Regions from separate parts of the Homo sapiens genome. Here all the other regions are linked to region 1. Evidence: promoter capture Hi-C in 16 types of primary human blood cells and fetal thymus (Javierre and others, 2016). All regions are on one chromosome and are shown on one strand. Each heading gives the region's core, a stretch centred on a gene start or on the middle of the fragment in contact. The rest is flanking DNA. Distances are from core to core; before and after follow the strand shown.

The links. The method cuts DNA at HindIII sites, captures the fragments that hold promoters and counts their contacts. A CHiCAGO score of 5 or more calls a contact.
Region 2: the fragment with the promoter of SAMD4B here is called in contact with the fragment with the promoter of GGN in region 1 in 1 of 17 cell types (naive CD8 T cells); the score reaches 5.2 in naive CD8 T cells.
Region 3: a fragment that was not itself captured here is called in contact with the fragment with the promoter of GGN in region 1 in 16 of 17 cell types (naive CD8 T cells, total CD8 T cells, non-activated CD4 T cells and 13 more); the score reaches 19.3 in naive CD8 T cells.

The regions. Positions count from the first base shown.
Region 1 is chr19:38,385,982-38,390,317 of GRCh38, forward strand. GGN (gametogenetin) reads right to left here and starts at 2,053. Exons shown (of 4, transcript NM_152657.4): 1 at 1,994-2,053; 2 at 1,780-1,841; 3 at 1-1,299. The coding sequence starts at 1,280. SPRED3 (sprouty related EVH1 domain containing 3) reads left to right here and starts at 2,716. Exons shown (of 6, transcript NM_001394336.1): 1 at 2,716-2,826; 2 at 4,318-4,336. The coding sequence starts at 4,322. RefSeq lists silencers at 1,849-2,088, 3,548-3,842. The HindIII fragment of the contact is 15,577 bases long and covers 483-4,336 here.
Region 2 is chr19:39,339,870-39,344,205 of GRCh38, forward strand. It overlaps SAMD4B (sterile alpha motif domain containing 4B), which reads left to right and starts at 2,552. Exons shown (of 14, transcript NM_001384574.2): 1 at 2,552-2,707. RefSeq lists a silencer at 2,241-2,670. The HindIII fragment of the contact is 6,593 bases long and covers 1-2,924 here.
Region 3 is chr19:38,931,371-38,935,706 of GRCh38, forward strand. MRPS12 (mitochondrial ribosomal protein S12) reads left to right here. Exons shown (of 3, transcript NM_033362.4): 3 at 963-1,798. The coding sequence ends at 1,330. LOC124904713 (a long non-coding RNA gene) reads right to left here. Exons shown (of 2, transcript XR_007067253.1): 2 at 3,453-4,336. Among named protein-coding and RNA genes, the nearest start is that of MRPS12, 2.6 kb to the left of the region's middle. The HindIII fragment of the contact is 303 bases long and covers 2,122-2,424 here.

The DNA of each region.
Region 1 (4,336 bases), core at 803-3,302:
ATGGGCTCGCCATTGGTGGGTGCTGGGAAGATGAACGTAGGCGGCGCCAGCAGGGCAGGTGCGGGCCTCCGGGGCCCGGGAGCTGAGTGTATCTGCTCTGGTGGTGGCGGAGGGGAGCCCCAAGGCCCAGAGAGTGCGGCCGCACGCCGTCGCGGCGCCCCGATGCCTCCGCCAGCCCCGTTGAAGCGGAAGTGGCGTTCAGGGCCGTCGGGAGCGCTAACCCAGTCGAATTTGGGCTTCGAGCCTGGGAAGGTGGTGTAGGGTGGCGGCGGTAGGGCCCGGGCTTGGGACGCAGGCGCCGAGGGAGGACCAGAGCACCCTTCGCCGTCTCCATCACCTCCCTCGGCTTCCTGTGCCCCTCGAGAAACCTCTCCCAAGGGGCGAGCGGCTCCAGGAGGCAGGGGCCCTTGCTTCAGGACCTCGGCGTAAGAGATGGCACCTGAGGCAGCAAAGAGGCCGCCGCCTCCGCCGCCCCCCAGCGAAGCTTTGGCTGCTAAGGAACTCGAGGCTGCCGGAGGGGCCAAAGAGGGCCTCGACTTGAAGGTGATTTTACACAGCAGGCTCAGACCGGACTCGGAATCCGCAGGCTGGGCCATTTCGCCTTCGCCCGCATGGGGAGGCGCCCCTCCGCGAGCCCTGCCGGCCGTCTGGCCCTGGTTGCGGGGCCCAGCCTGGCTTTCTGTCGGGGGTGAGGCGGGTGTGGCCAGAGCAGGAGTGATTCTGCGGTCCGCCGGCTGCCGTTCAGAAGGTAATGGTGGTGGCGGCTTCCAAGTCTCCAGGGGCGGCGGAAATTGGGATGGGGCCCTCGGGACAGTGTCCTTCACGGATAGTTGCCGGGGCGGCGGCGGCGGCTTCAGCGGGCGGAGGCTCGGAGGGTCGCCCTGGCCGCGATGGCTCGCCTCCAGCAGGCGGCGGATCCGGGGAACTGGAGTGCCCGCGGGCTTTTGCCATTTAGACGGGCCGGGCAGCAGAGTCCCCGCGGGGGCCGGGGGTGGTGCAGAGACCGCGGCCGCCTCTTCAGGAGGGGGCATCACTGGAGAGGGCCGTTCTAAGGTGAGGGGCAGGGTCGAGGGTGAGGCCTGGGGCTCCCGGGGTACCATGAGTCCCGGGGGTGTGGCGCTGCCAGGGAACCAGACACCCAGCCCACGAGTCAGGCGCATGGCCTGGGAGGTCATCTCGGGCTCCACCAGGGACGTCCGGCGGGAGTCGGGGGCGCGGTCCGAGGGCTGCACTTTTCGGGAGCCCCCGCCCGCGGATGGCTCCGACTGCAAGTTCCCCATTTCTGACGGAGCTCGGAGACTAGTCAGAAAAATTTACTCCAGTCAGCCTGCCAGGGCCGTGGGGACCCTACGAGGCTGGCTGTACTTGATCTAATGCGTCCGCACCGGCCCCGCCCCTGTTCTCCAAGATCCGATCAGGCCCAAGTCCTTAGGTCGCACTCCTGTTCCCCGACCTTCGACACTCACGCCTTCTTGCCCATGTCCCCAACACAGCTGCTGTTAAGATACTTCACTACCAGCCCCATTATGTACTAAGGTTCCATGCCTGTCCCCTTGGCTGGTCATGCTGATCCCTCAGTCCTCTCCTCTAACTCTCCGACTCCCCGCCTCTCTCTAGAGCACCTGGGTCCCGCCCTCTTCCCAGGCAGGGGCAGATCCTCAGGCCTCACCCCTAAACCTCTTCCCGCTCCAGGTCTACTAGCTGGCATCCACAGTCAAGCTCCACCCCTGTCCCCAAGCTCCGCCCTGGCCCCGCCTCCCCCCAGAGGAACCCACTCACCGAGTCCTCCAGCCGAGCAGAGTTCAGACCGCGGCGCCCTGGGCCCGGGGCAGGGCAGGGAACTGCCGTAGCAGAAAATAACCGAAAAGAACGGGGGTGCGGGTGAAGGCAAGTGGGCGAGACAACTAGGGCGGACCCCGAGATGTAGGCCCCGCCCCCGGAGCTCGAGGCCCCGCCCTCCTGCGAGCCCGCGGGAGCCCGGCCCCTTACGAACCTAGGTCTCCCCTTGAAATACTCCGAGGTCTTGTTCCTCGCCCCCAGGCCTTCTGGTTCTAAGCTCCACCCCTTTGGGTTGTTCTCCTTAGCCCCTCCCCTTTAGAATGTCCCGCCCCTCTCATTCCCTCCCGAGGCCCCGCCCACGCGAACACCGATGCGTCGCTCCTCCCCTTTGGACCTCTCATCTGCCCCGCCCCTAAGGCAATTTACCTCTAAGCTCCGCCTTTTTAAGACCCGGCAACATCGCTTCTCAAGACCCTCTCCTTCCCCCCGGGCGCCGAGAAGGCCCATCCACCGTGGGCCCGCCCCTTCGTGACGCACGCACTAGTCCTCGCCTGCAGCATCCAAACCTCCTTATACCCAGGCCCTCCAACCCCACCCACTTGTGAAGGCTCCCCTCTCGCCCCACCCCTTATCGAACTCTGCCAGGCACCCAAGCCACAGCGTAGACCACCACCTCTTTAGAACCTTGAGACCAGTCCCTGTCCCTGCCCCGTCCCCTCCTCATAGCATTAGAGACCAATGGCGCAGATGGGTGGAAAAGTGGGGGATCCCCTCTGGATCTTAAGAAAATGGGGGCTGGGGGGTTGCTCTCTGGAGCTAGTGCCGGGCTCTAGGACCCAGCAGGCAAGTAAGCCCGCCTCGCTCTTACCCCTCCCCCAAGCCGCCCCTTCCCCCCCCACCCGTCTTCCAGGTTCCCCCTCCCTCCCCCCTCGCCCCGGCTCCCGGTGCCCGTCTCCAGCGCCGCCGGAGCCAGCCAGGGAGCCGGAACGAAAAGGAGGAGGAGGAGGCCGCGTCGCCGCCGCTCGGAGCCCGGCCGGAGCCTCGCAGGCAGGTGCCGAGGGGGGCGAGGGGGCGGGGGCTGACAGACTGCCTGCCCCGATGAGGGGGCGGCCGTGACCGCGCTGCGCCTTCTGCCCACCCAGGCGCCCCCAAGGCCCCGGCTAGGAGGACTAGAGAGTGGGGACCCCCCAAACTGCGCGGCAGCCATTCAGGGTACCAGTCTTCATTTGTGGGGTCTGGACTTTCTCCGAGGATGCCCCATTCACAAAATTCCGTCCTGGACCCTCACCGTTGAGGAACGCTGAGGACCACTCCCCCCGGGGGACACAGGATGTGTGGGGAGCGTAGGCCACCCTGAAATGCCAGTGCCCCATTCCAGCTAGGCCCTGGGGGGACCCCTGCTCTCATTCCCTGCTTCACCTGTTGTCGGGGGAGGCGGGCGGACAAAGGAAGCAGCGTCACGTGACTGCTCATTCACAAAATCCCATCCCATTGAGAAAAGGGGGCTGGGGGCGCTGCAGCCGCCCCTTCCCCTCCTGAAGGGCCCGGGAAACCCAGCAGCCTGCAGGTGGGGGAGGGGGCTAGAGCTCGTCCGGGTCCCTAAGGTTGGGACGCCAGGGTCCCTGTGCTGGATGGCAGTGAAGGGCTGGACACTGATCCCGATTACTGGGCGGAGGGCTACGTCCTCTGAGCTGGGGGGCGGGGTAAAATGGTTCTGAAGGATGCTGGGGCTGGGGGGCGGGAAGGGAAGAGGGAGGAAGGATCAATCTGCCCCCCCATCCCATCTTTCCCCCCTGGCTTCCCTCGGCTGGGGCCTGGGGGAGCAGCCTTGATTTTTGTGAATGAAATGCTCTCTGGATGTGTCTTCGGTCGCCCGTTTCTGACTTCCTCTGCCTCCGTCTCCCTCTGAGCCTCTCTTTCTGGCCATTTCTGGTTCTCTCCCTGTTCCCTGCCCATCTCCCGTTGCTGGGTGACTCAGTGAGCTTTGCATCCGGTCTCATTCATAAATCCGGGAAGGGGTGGGTGGGGGGGAAAGAGCCTGGGTTTCTCACCCAGCCTGTGGCCTGGACGACAGGGTGCGGAGGCAGGGTTGGGAGAACAGGAGCTGAGTTGATGGGCCCAGAGAAAATATATATGCGCAGGCACCCAGCTGTGAGGGGGAGCACTGGGTGGGGCTGTGGGTATGTGCTGAGGGAGGAGAAGGGGGTGATAGGGATAAGCAGGAGGGGGAGGGAAGGGCAACACCAGGGCTATGGGGGTGGGGACGGAGAGATGGGGGAAAGGTGGGTACAGAGAGAAAGGGCAGACATGGAGAAGAAGATAGAGGTGAGAGAGAAGAGATGGCATGAGGAAGAAAGGAGCTGTGTGGAAGACGGTGGCCATGGGGTTGAAGGTGGGTATTGCTAGCTTAGGGTGCAGTGGACCTGGACGTGAGAGATGAAGTTGGAGGGGAGATGAGGGTTGAGGGAACATTCCATGGGAGAGCAGGGTTTGAGCTCATGACTGTGTTGTCCCTGTCCTTCCCCCCACCTCCTGCAGGTACATGGTGCGGGTCCGA
Region 2 (4,336 bases), core at 1,302-3,801, 950 kb after region 1:
AATGATCCTACTACATGGCCTTTGCACTTGCTGTTTTCTCTTTCTGGAACCCACTTTCTCCTTCATTCCTTCAGATTTCTGTTTCAGTCTCACCTAATGAAAGAGGCCTTTCCCCATGTAAATTAATTCTGGCTGCATTACTCCATTCCCTTAGCTGCTTTCTTGTTATTTATTTGTTTATTTATTTAGAGACATAGTCTCGCTCTGTCACCTGGGCTAGAGTGCAATGGCAAATCTCGGCTTATTGCAACCTCCGACTCCTGGGTTCAAGTGATTCTCCTGCCTCACCCTCCTGAGTAGCTGGAACTACAGGCACGCATCACTATGCCCAGTTAATTTTTGGCATTTTTAGTAGAGACAGGGTTTTGCCACTTTGGCCAGGCTGGTCTCAAACTCCTGGCCTCAAGTGATCCACCAGCCTCAGCCTCCCAAAGTGCTGGGATTACAGGCATGAGTCACCATGCCCAGCCACTGCTTTCTTTTTCTCCTTGGTACTTATCACGAAGTTACACTGTATTTCCTTATTGTTTGTGTCCCCAAGAACTAGAATGTAAGTCTTTTTGTTTTTTTTTTGTTTTTTTTTTGAGACGGAGTTTCACTGTTGTTGCCCAGGCTGGAGTGCAATGGCACGATCTTGGCTCACTGCAACCTCCGCCACCCGGGTTCAAGCGATTCTCTTGCCTCAGCCTCCCAAGTAGCTGGGACTACAGGCATGTGCCACCACGCCCCGCTAATTTTGTATTTTTAGTAGAGATGGGATTTCACCATGTTGGTCAGGCTGGTCTCGAACACCTGCCTCGGCCTCCCAAAATGCTGGGATTACAGGTGTGAGCCACCGCGCTCATCCTATTGTTGTGTTTCTAGCACCTTAAGCAGAGCCTGGCACATATTAGATAGTCAAGAAATATTATTGAATGAATTAATGAACCAGCAGTTAATGAGCACAATAATTCTATGCAGTGTGAAGGCTGTTGCTTAAATGCAGGAGGTAGTGGATGGGGTTTGTGACATGGCCCCACCCTGGTGAAACAGCCTTTCCTCAAAGCGTCTATAATGCCACACTCTCCTGGTTTTCCTCTCTCTGGCTGCCTTTTGCAATATTCATCGACAGCGTCAATTCCTTTGCTCAAATCCTGCCTCTCTGTTTCAGGGTTCTGTTCAGTCCCTGTCTCCAGTGACCCTTCATACCCTCCCCGGGCTAGACCCCTAACTCCCACAGCCTCAATTACCATCTTTGACGATCCTTAAATCTTGGTCTCCAGCCTCAATTTCTCCCTTAAGCTCCAGACCCAGGGTTTGTGCACCTCCTGGACCTCGCTACTAGGCATCCACATTGGGCTTAGTATCTTCCCAACCTGCTTCTGGCGCCCAGTCTCCCGGCTAGAGGGGCCTGGTCCTAAACTTTTCTCCCCCTTCCACTCCATAGCCAGCCAGTGTCAGGGCCCGTTCGCTCTGCCTCCAGGGCGTCCCTCCCACCTGCACCTCCTTCCCTCCCCACAGTCCCTCCCTCGTGCAAACCCCCTCTTTCTTCCCCACCCCCTCCCCCAGCTGCCTCCCTGGACTCCCGATCCCGTTTCATTCCCTCCAATCCGCCCTCCATGTATAAGCCAGAGAGACATCTCTCCAAAACCCCAGACTCACCATGATCCTCCCCGGCTTGAAGCCCTTCACGGCTCCCTAGTGCCCTCGGGACAAGTCCAAACTCCCTCAAGTGGCCAAACAACTGGCCTCTGCTCGTTCCTCACCCCTCCCTGTCTTCAACTCGACCCTCCATCCCGACTGCCTCTCTAAGTGCCTGTAACAAGCCAGATCTCTGTCACCGAGAGCCTTCTGAACACAGGTCCCTCTGATTAGTTCACCCGGACCCAATACAGTTTGTGGAACGCACAGATCACAACCAAAGTCACAGCAACAACTCCCGTTTATTGACAGCCTCCTTGATCCTTAGCGCTTTCTGTGCATTCTCTTCCCACCCTAAAGGCTAGATCTCGCCTCGCCATTCCCATCGGAGAGAGCAAGCGGCAAGGCTGAGAACAGCGCGATGAGAAAGCCGAGCGCCCAGAAGCCCGAGTGCAGACGCCCACTGAGGACAGCCTTGGGTGAGGCGGGCCACCCAAGGGGCGGGGAAGAGGAGGCCTGGAACGCCTGAATCAGGAACTGTGACTTCGCTCGGGGCAGCTGGGGTGGACGCGCGCGAGCCTGCCCCCTGCGGGCCTGGAGGCCCAACCTCAGACTCCGCCGGGCCCGTTGCCCTGGGCAACGCCCCGCGCGCCCCGCCCCTTCCCCGCCCCCCAGCCCCAAACCCCAGGCCTGGCCGACTGCCCGTCACCCCCACGTCCGACCAATCCCGCCGAGGAGGGGGCGGGCCTCTTGGGCCCCGTTCCACCACCGTCGCTCCCCCCTCGCCGCGACCCCGCCTTACTCGGCTCACACCTCCCGCCCTTCGGGCTGCCCTCGCCGCCCGTTGGCTGGCGCGCCGTTCGTCACCCGGGCGTGAGCTAATGCCGGCGCGCGGCGGCCCCCGTCGGGGCGGGGCCAGGGGCGGTGACGCACGGCGCGGTGACGCAGCGCGACGGCGGCGGCGGCGGCGGCGGCGGTGGTCGGTGCGGGAGGAGGGAGGGGAGCTTGCGGGCCCGAGAGGGGGCGACGGCGGCGGCGGTGGCCTGAGGAGGCCCGAGCGGCGGCGGTGGCGGCGAAGGCCGAGGCGGTGAGTCTCGGGCCGGGCCGGCGCGGGGCGGCGGCGAGTCGGGGCGCGCGGGGCTCCCCTCAGGGCGACCCAGGCCGCGCGGGCGGCCCCGCCCCCTCAGGGACCCCGAACCGCGGGCGGCGGCGGCGGGCGGGTGCGGAACGCGGGCCTCGGGGGGCCGGGCCCCACGGGAGAAGCCCCGCGCCCGTCCCCAGTCTCCCTCCTGGGCCCTGGCCGAAGCTTCCCTCCGAAATCTTTCTCATGCCCTCGGGATTGCCGAGGGGCCGGGCCGGGGGCCTCTCCTCAGGACCCCCCGCACATCCCCCTCGGAGAGCCCCGGAAAGCCTGCCGATCCCCCGTGTGCGCCCTGAAAGGTCCCCGCAAAACCCACCCCTCCCGTGGAGTCGCCTCCTCGAGCCCTTCATGGGTCCCAGCAGCTTTCCTCGCAGACCCCCGCCCTTTGGCCCCGAAGCCCCCGTCCTCCTCCTGTCTCCAGAAATAGTCCTCGGAGGCCACTCCTCGTCCATTCCACAGCGTGGCTCTCATAGCTGCTCCAGGAGCCTCCCTCACGAGCCCTGCACACCTCCCCAAGGCTCCCTCCGGACCCCTGTCCATTCCAGAACTCTCCCCCGGAGCCCTGCCTCTCACAGCCCAACAGGCTCACCCGACTTCCCCCTCCCGGATCCTAAGAATTTTCCCTCCCACTTACCCCATTCCAGAAACCTCCTTGGAGATTTTCCGCTCATACCCCCTGCATTTCTGATTCCCCCTCCCAGAAGTCCTTCAGAATGCCCCCGACGGACCGTGATCATCTTCCCTGAAGATCTCCTTCCCATATCCCCAAAATAAATCTTCCTCACAGACTTTGTGAAATGCCCCCAGATCCCAAAAACTCACCTAGAAGACTCCATCCCCCTCCCCACCGTATTGCAACCATCTCTCATACACACTCCCCCTTCACGTATCCCTCTGGACCTTTCCACAGATCCCAAAAGTCTCCCCCAGAGGCCTCCTGTCTCCCCCTGGTCTCACCACCCTAAAATGCCCTAGAGATCACCCTCATGTAGCCCAGTGATCTTCACCGGGATCCCCTTCCCCACCCCCACTCATTCTAAAAATCTCCAGCAATTGCCTGAAATCTCCAGAGGACTCTCAGCATCATATTCCAAAAGCTTCTTCCAAAATCCCTTTTACATACTCCACATCTTTTCCAGTCCCCCACATCACACGCTCCAAAAATTGTTTAAGGATCCTGAAAACTTTCCTCATGGTTTTTCTCTCAGATCCCGTAGAACTCCCCTTCACTAACACCTCAGAATCCCCCCTTGCAGACCGGTTTTAGAGGAATTTTCTGAAGATCCTCCTCACAACCCCTGTAAGACCGTAAGATTCTCTTGGTGACCCCTCTGATATGCAGGTTTTCAGGACCCCCCCCCCCCACACACACACACAGCTTAGAGACCCCAGCGACCCCCTGGAGCCCTCCTGACGTATGTTCTTGAAATCCCTCCAAGACCTTCCTGACACCACCAGAACCCCTTGAATCAATACTTCTGCCTTACTAAGGGACTTTTCTAGAGATATCCCTCCCTGAACTTGCTCACACAGGTCCCCTAAATCCTCTAGAATCCCTTGAAGAAGACCCTCACA
Region 3 (4,336 bases), core at 1,023-3,522, 550 kb after region 1:
CGAGGCTAGAGGGGGAGGGTTATTCGCTCTTGGACTTGTGTGCCTCCGTCGGAGCCCCGAGGGAAACGGGGGTGGAAAAACACGGTGGGGTTTTGGCAGAGCTAGGGCTGCTAGAGCAAGAGGTGGGAAGCAGCTGCATGGAGGGCTACTGCGTGTCAAGCGGCGTTTGGGTCAGTTTTATTATTTATTTATTTAAGATCTCCCTCTGTCGCCCAGGCTGAAGTGCAGCGGTGTGATCACAGCTCACTGCAGTCTCGACCTCCTGGGCTCAAGTGATCCTCCCGCCTCAGCCTCCCAAGTAGCTGGGACCACAGGCCTGCAGAACCACAACCAGCTAACTTTTTGATTCTTTGTAGAGAGGGAGGTCTCCCTGTGTCGCCCAGTCTGGCCTTAACTCCTGAGCTCAAGTGACCCTCCACAGCCTCCAAAAGTGCTAGGATTACATGCATGAGCCACTGAGCCTACTATTATTTTAAACAGCATTAAAAATAATGCTTCCTGGCCAGCCGTGGTGGCTCACGCCTGTAATCCCAGCACTTTGAGAGGCCGAGGTCAGGAGTTCGAGACCAGCCTGACCAACATGGTGAAACCCCGTCTCTACTTAAAAATACGAAGATTAGCCGAGCGTGGTGGTGGGTGCCTGTAGTCCCAGCTGCTCAGGAGGCTGAGACAGGAGAATTGCTTGAACCCAGGAGGCAGAGGTTGCAGTGGGCCAAGATTGAGGTACTGCACTCCAGCCTGGGCGACAGAGTGAGACTTTGTCTCAAAAAAAAAAAAGAAAAAAAAAAAAAAGGTAATGCTTCCTTGAAGAATAAAGAGTTACTTTTGTCTGTAGATAACATTAGATGTGAACAAATGCATCTTTGTAAAGTGCTTTAAACAATGCCTAAAACACCAAAATTGAGTTGCTACTACTCTAAGATCTGTTCTCTGGGATAATAACCCCTTTCGGCCCTCTCCAGGCCCAGCTCTGGTTCCCCGGCTCTGGGCTACCTGCTCCATGGCTACCCTGAACCAGATGCACCGCCTGGGGCCCCCCAAGCGGCCGCCTCGGAAGCTGGGCCCCACGGAAGGCCGGCCGCAGCTGAAGGGTGTGGTCCTGTGCACGTTTACCCGCAAGCCGAAGAAGCCCAACTCAGCCAATCGCAAGTGCTGTCGAGTGCGGCTCAGCACTGGCCGCGAGGCCGTCTGCTTCATCCCTGGGGAGGGCCACACCCTGCAGGAGCACCAGATTGTCCTTGTGGAGGGCGGCCGCACCCAGGACCTGCCAGGCGTCAAGCTCACCGTTGTGCGTGGCAAGTACGACTGTGGCCACGTGCAGAAGAAGTGACGGCTGGGGGCACAGTGGGCTGGGCGCCCCTGCAGAACATGAACCTTCCGCTCCTGGCTGCCACAGGGTCCTCCGATGCTGGCCTTTGCGCCTCTAGAGGCAGCCACTCATGGATTCAAGTCCTGGCTCCGCCTCTTCCATCAGGACCACTATTAAGCCATAGGAGTCCTGGGGGTGCAAAGGGTGCCCCTCTGTCAACACCCTTGGCTCCTGTGTTTAGAGGGGTGGCCTGAAGGACCTTTTCTGCTGGGACAAGACACTGTACTGCCCTCTGCTGGGAAGGGGTTTTAATAAACAGACCCTGGCGCTTGTGATGTAAATCCCCTTGTGGAGTATTTGCCCTCTGTGTGGCTGTGGCAGTGGACATCTCTGAGCTTCAGTTTCCTCCAGAAAATAGCTCCATTGGTGGTATCTCCTTTGTTTGGTTTGGTGAAGATTAAATTCGATGCTCTATGTGCATAACACGCACGGAGGGCTCTTTTTTTTTTTTTTAGACAAAGTCTCACTCTGTTGCCCAGGCTGGAGTGCAGTGGCCTGATCTCAGCTCACTGCAACCTCTGCCCCCCGGGTTCATATGATTCTCCTGCCTCAGCCTCCCGAGTAGCTGGGATTGTAGGCACACACCACCAGGCCTGGCTAATTTTTGTATTTTTAGTAGAGACAGCGTTTCACCATGTTGGCCAGGCTGGTCTCAAACTCCTGAGCTCGGGTGATCTGCCCACCTTGGCCTCCCAAAGTGCTGGGATTACAGGCGTGAGCCACCACGCCTGGCAGAGGGCTACTGTATTTTAAGCTTAGGAGTCAGGTAGGTGGCACAGAGGCCCAGGTCTTCTTCCTGCAGGCCATGGGTTCTGGGCACATAAACTCTGCCCTCAAGCATGGACAGCTGGAAAATGGCAGTAATTGTAATGTTGATGTGGAAGGGGTGTGGAAAGGATTCAATGGGGTGTGCTGCTCCACACCCGGGAGCTGTTCTTTTATTTTATACGTGTGTGTGTGTGTGTGTGTGTGTGTGTGTGTTTGTGTGTGTTTGTGTAGAGAGAGAGACAGAGTCTCACTGTGTTGTCCAGGCTGGAGTGCGGTTCTATGATCAAAGCTTACTTCAGCCTTGACCTCCTGAGCTCAATAGATCCTCCCGCCTCAGCCTCCTGAGTAGTCAGGACCACAGGTGTGTGCCACCACACCTGGCTAACTTTTCCATTTTTTTAGAGTGGGAATCTGGCTTTGTTGTCCAGGCTGGTCTCGAACTCTTGGCCTCAAGAGATCCTTCCACCTTGGCCTCCTAAAATGCTGGATTATAGGTGTGAGCCACTATTATATTATATAATAATATAAAATTATTACTGGGTTCACCTGAGCTCAAATTCTGCTCCCCGTCATAATTGCTATGAGACCTGGCTATGTTGGTTCCCCCTATGGGCCTCGGTTTCCTCCCTTGGAAAATGGCACTGATGATAATGCTGACTGCACCTGATCATGTTTTTGGCCATGTAAGATTTAAGAAGTGGGGCCAGGTGCAGTGGCTCATGCCTGTAATCTCAACACTTTGGGAGGCCGAGGTGGGCCGACCACTTGAGGTCAGGAGTTTGAGACCAGCCTGGCCAACATGGTGAAACCCTGTCTCTACTAAAAATACAAAAATTACCCGGGCATGGTGGCATGTGCCTATAATCTCAGCTACTCAGGAGGCTGAGGCAGGAGACTTGCTTGAACCTGGGAGGTGGAGGTTGCAGTGAGCTGAGATCAGCACCACTGCACTGCAGCCTGGGTGACAGAGTGAGACTCTGTCTCAAAAAAAGAAAAAAGAAAAAACAATGTTGGAACTGTGTTTATATCATTGGGCTCTGGAGCCCAGCACTGCTCCAAGCCCTGCCTCCCCTACTTACTGGCTGGGTGACCTTGGGCAGGTTGTTTACACTCTGAGCCTGGACCAAATGGCGCTGATAAGGGTGCATGCTTGAGAGCTGTTTGGAGCATCATAGCTGTCTCCGAGTTCCTCTTGACGCTCAACACACAGCCTCCTGAGGGTCTCCTGATTGTAAACATGAGGCCACAAGGTCTTTTAGGATCAGAGCTGGTGGCAGATAAGTGCACTGATTACAGATAAAAATTGCCCATCCCCTCATATTTGGCACCAGTTTTATTGAGCTAGTTTGTTGGCCATGCCTAGCTGAGAAATAGAGAAGTGGAGGGAGATGGGGGGATGGGAGAGCTTTTCCTCATGGCACACTCTGCTCCAGGAGTCTGTATACAGGAGTGTGGAGAAAAGGAAGTGTTACCTTGCAGGAAGTTGCCCCCAAAGCAAGGGCAGGAGGTGGGGGTGGGGGACTTGGCCTCTGATGGAATTCTGGAATTCTGATGAGAGAGGTGCTAGCCTGACCTGAACAGGAGATGCTGACAGGCAGTGCTGGGCATGTTGCACAGAGATGGCTGGTTACACAGCCCCGTGGCAGGATCCCAGAGTGCCGAGACCAGCTGGGTCGTGGAGACCCTAACCCAGTGGCGCTAGAGGAATTAAAGACACACACCCAGAAATACAGGGTGTGGAGTGGGAAATCAGGGGTCTCACAGCCTTCAGAGCTGAGAGCCTCGAACAGAGATTTACACACATATTTATTGACAGCAAGCCAGTGATAAGCATTATTTCTATAGATTATAGATTAACTAAAAGCATTTCTTATGGGAAATAAAGGGATGTGCCAAAATAAACGGATGGGCTCTGGCTAGTTATCTGCAGCAGGAACATGTCCTTAAGGCACAGATCGCTCATGCTATTGTTTGTGGTACAGGAACCCCTTTAAGCCGTTTTCCATCCTGGGTGAGCCAGGTGTTCCTTGCCCTCATTCCAGTAAACCCACGACCTTCAGGGTGGGGGTCATGGCCATCATGAACATGTCACAGTGCTGCAGAGATTTTGTTTATGGCCAGTTTTGGGGCCAGTTTATGGCCAGATTCAGGGGCCTGTTCCCAACATGTCCCCTTTTTTGTTTTGCAAAGTGATAAAAG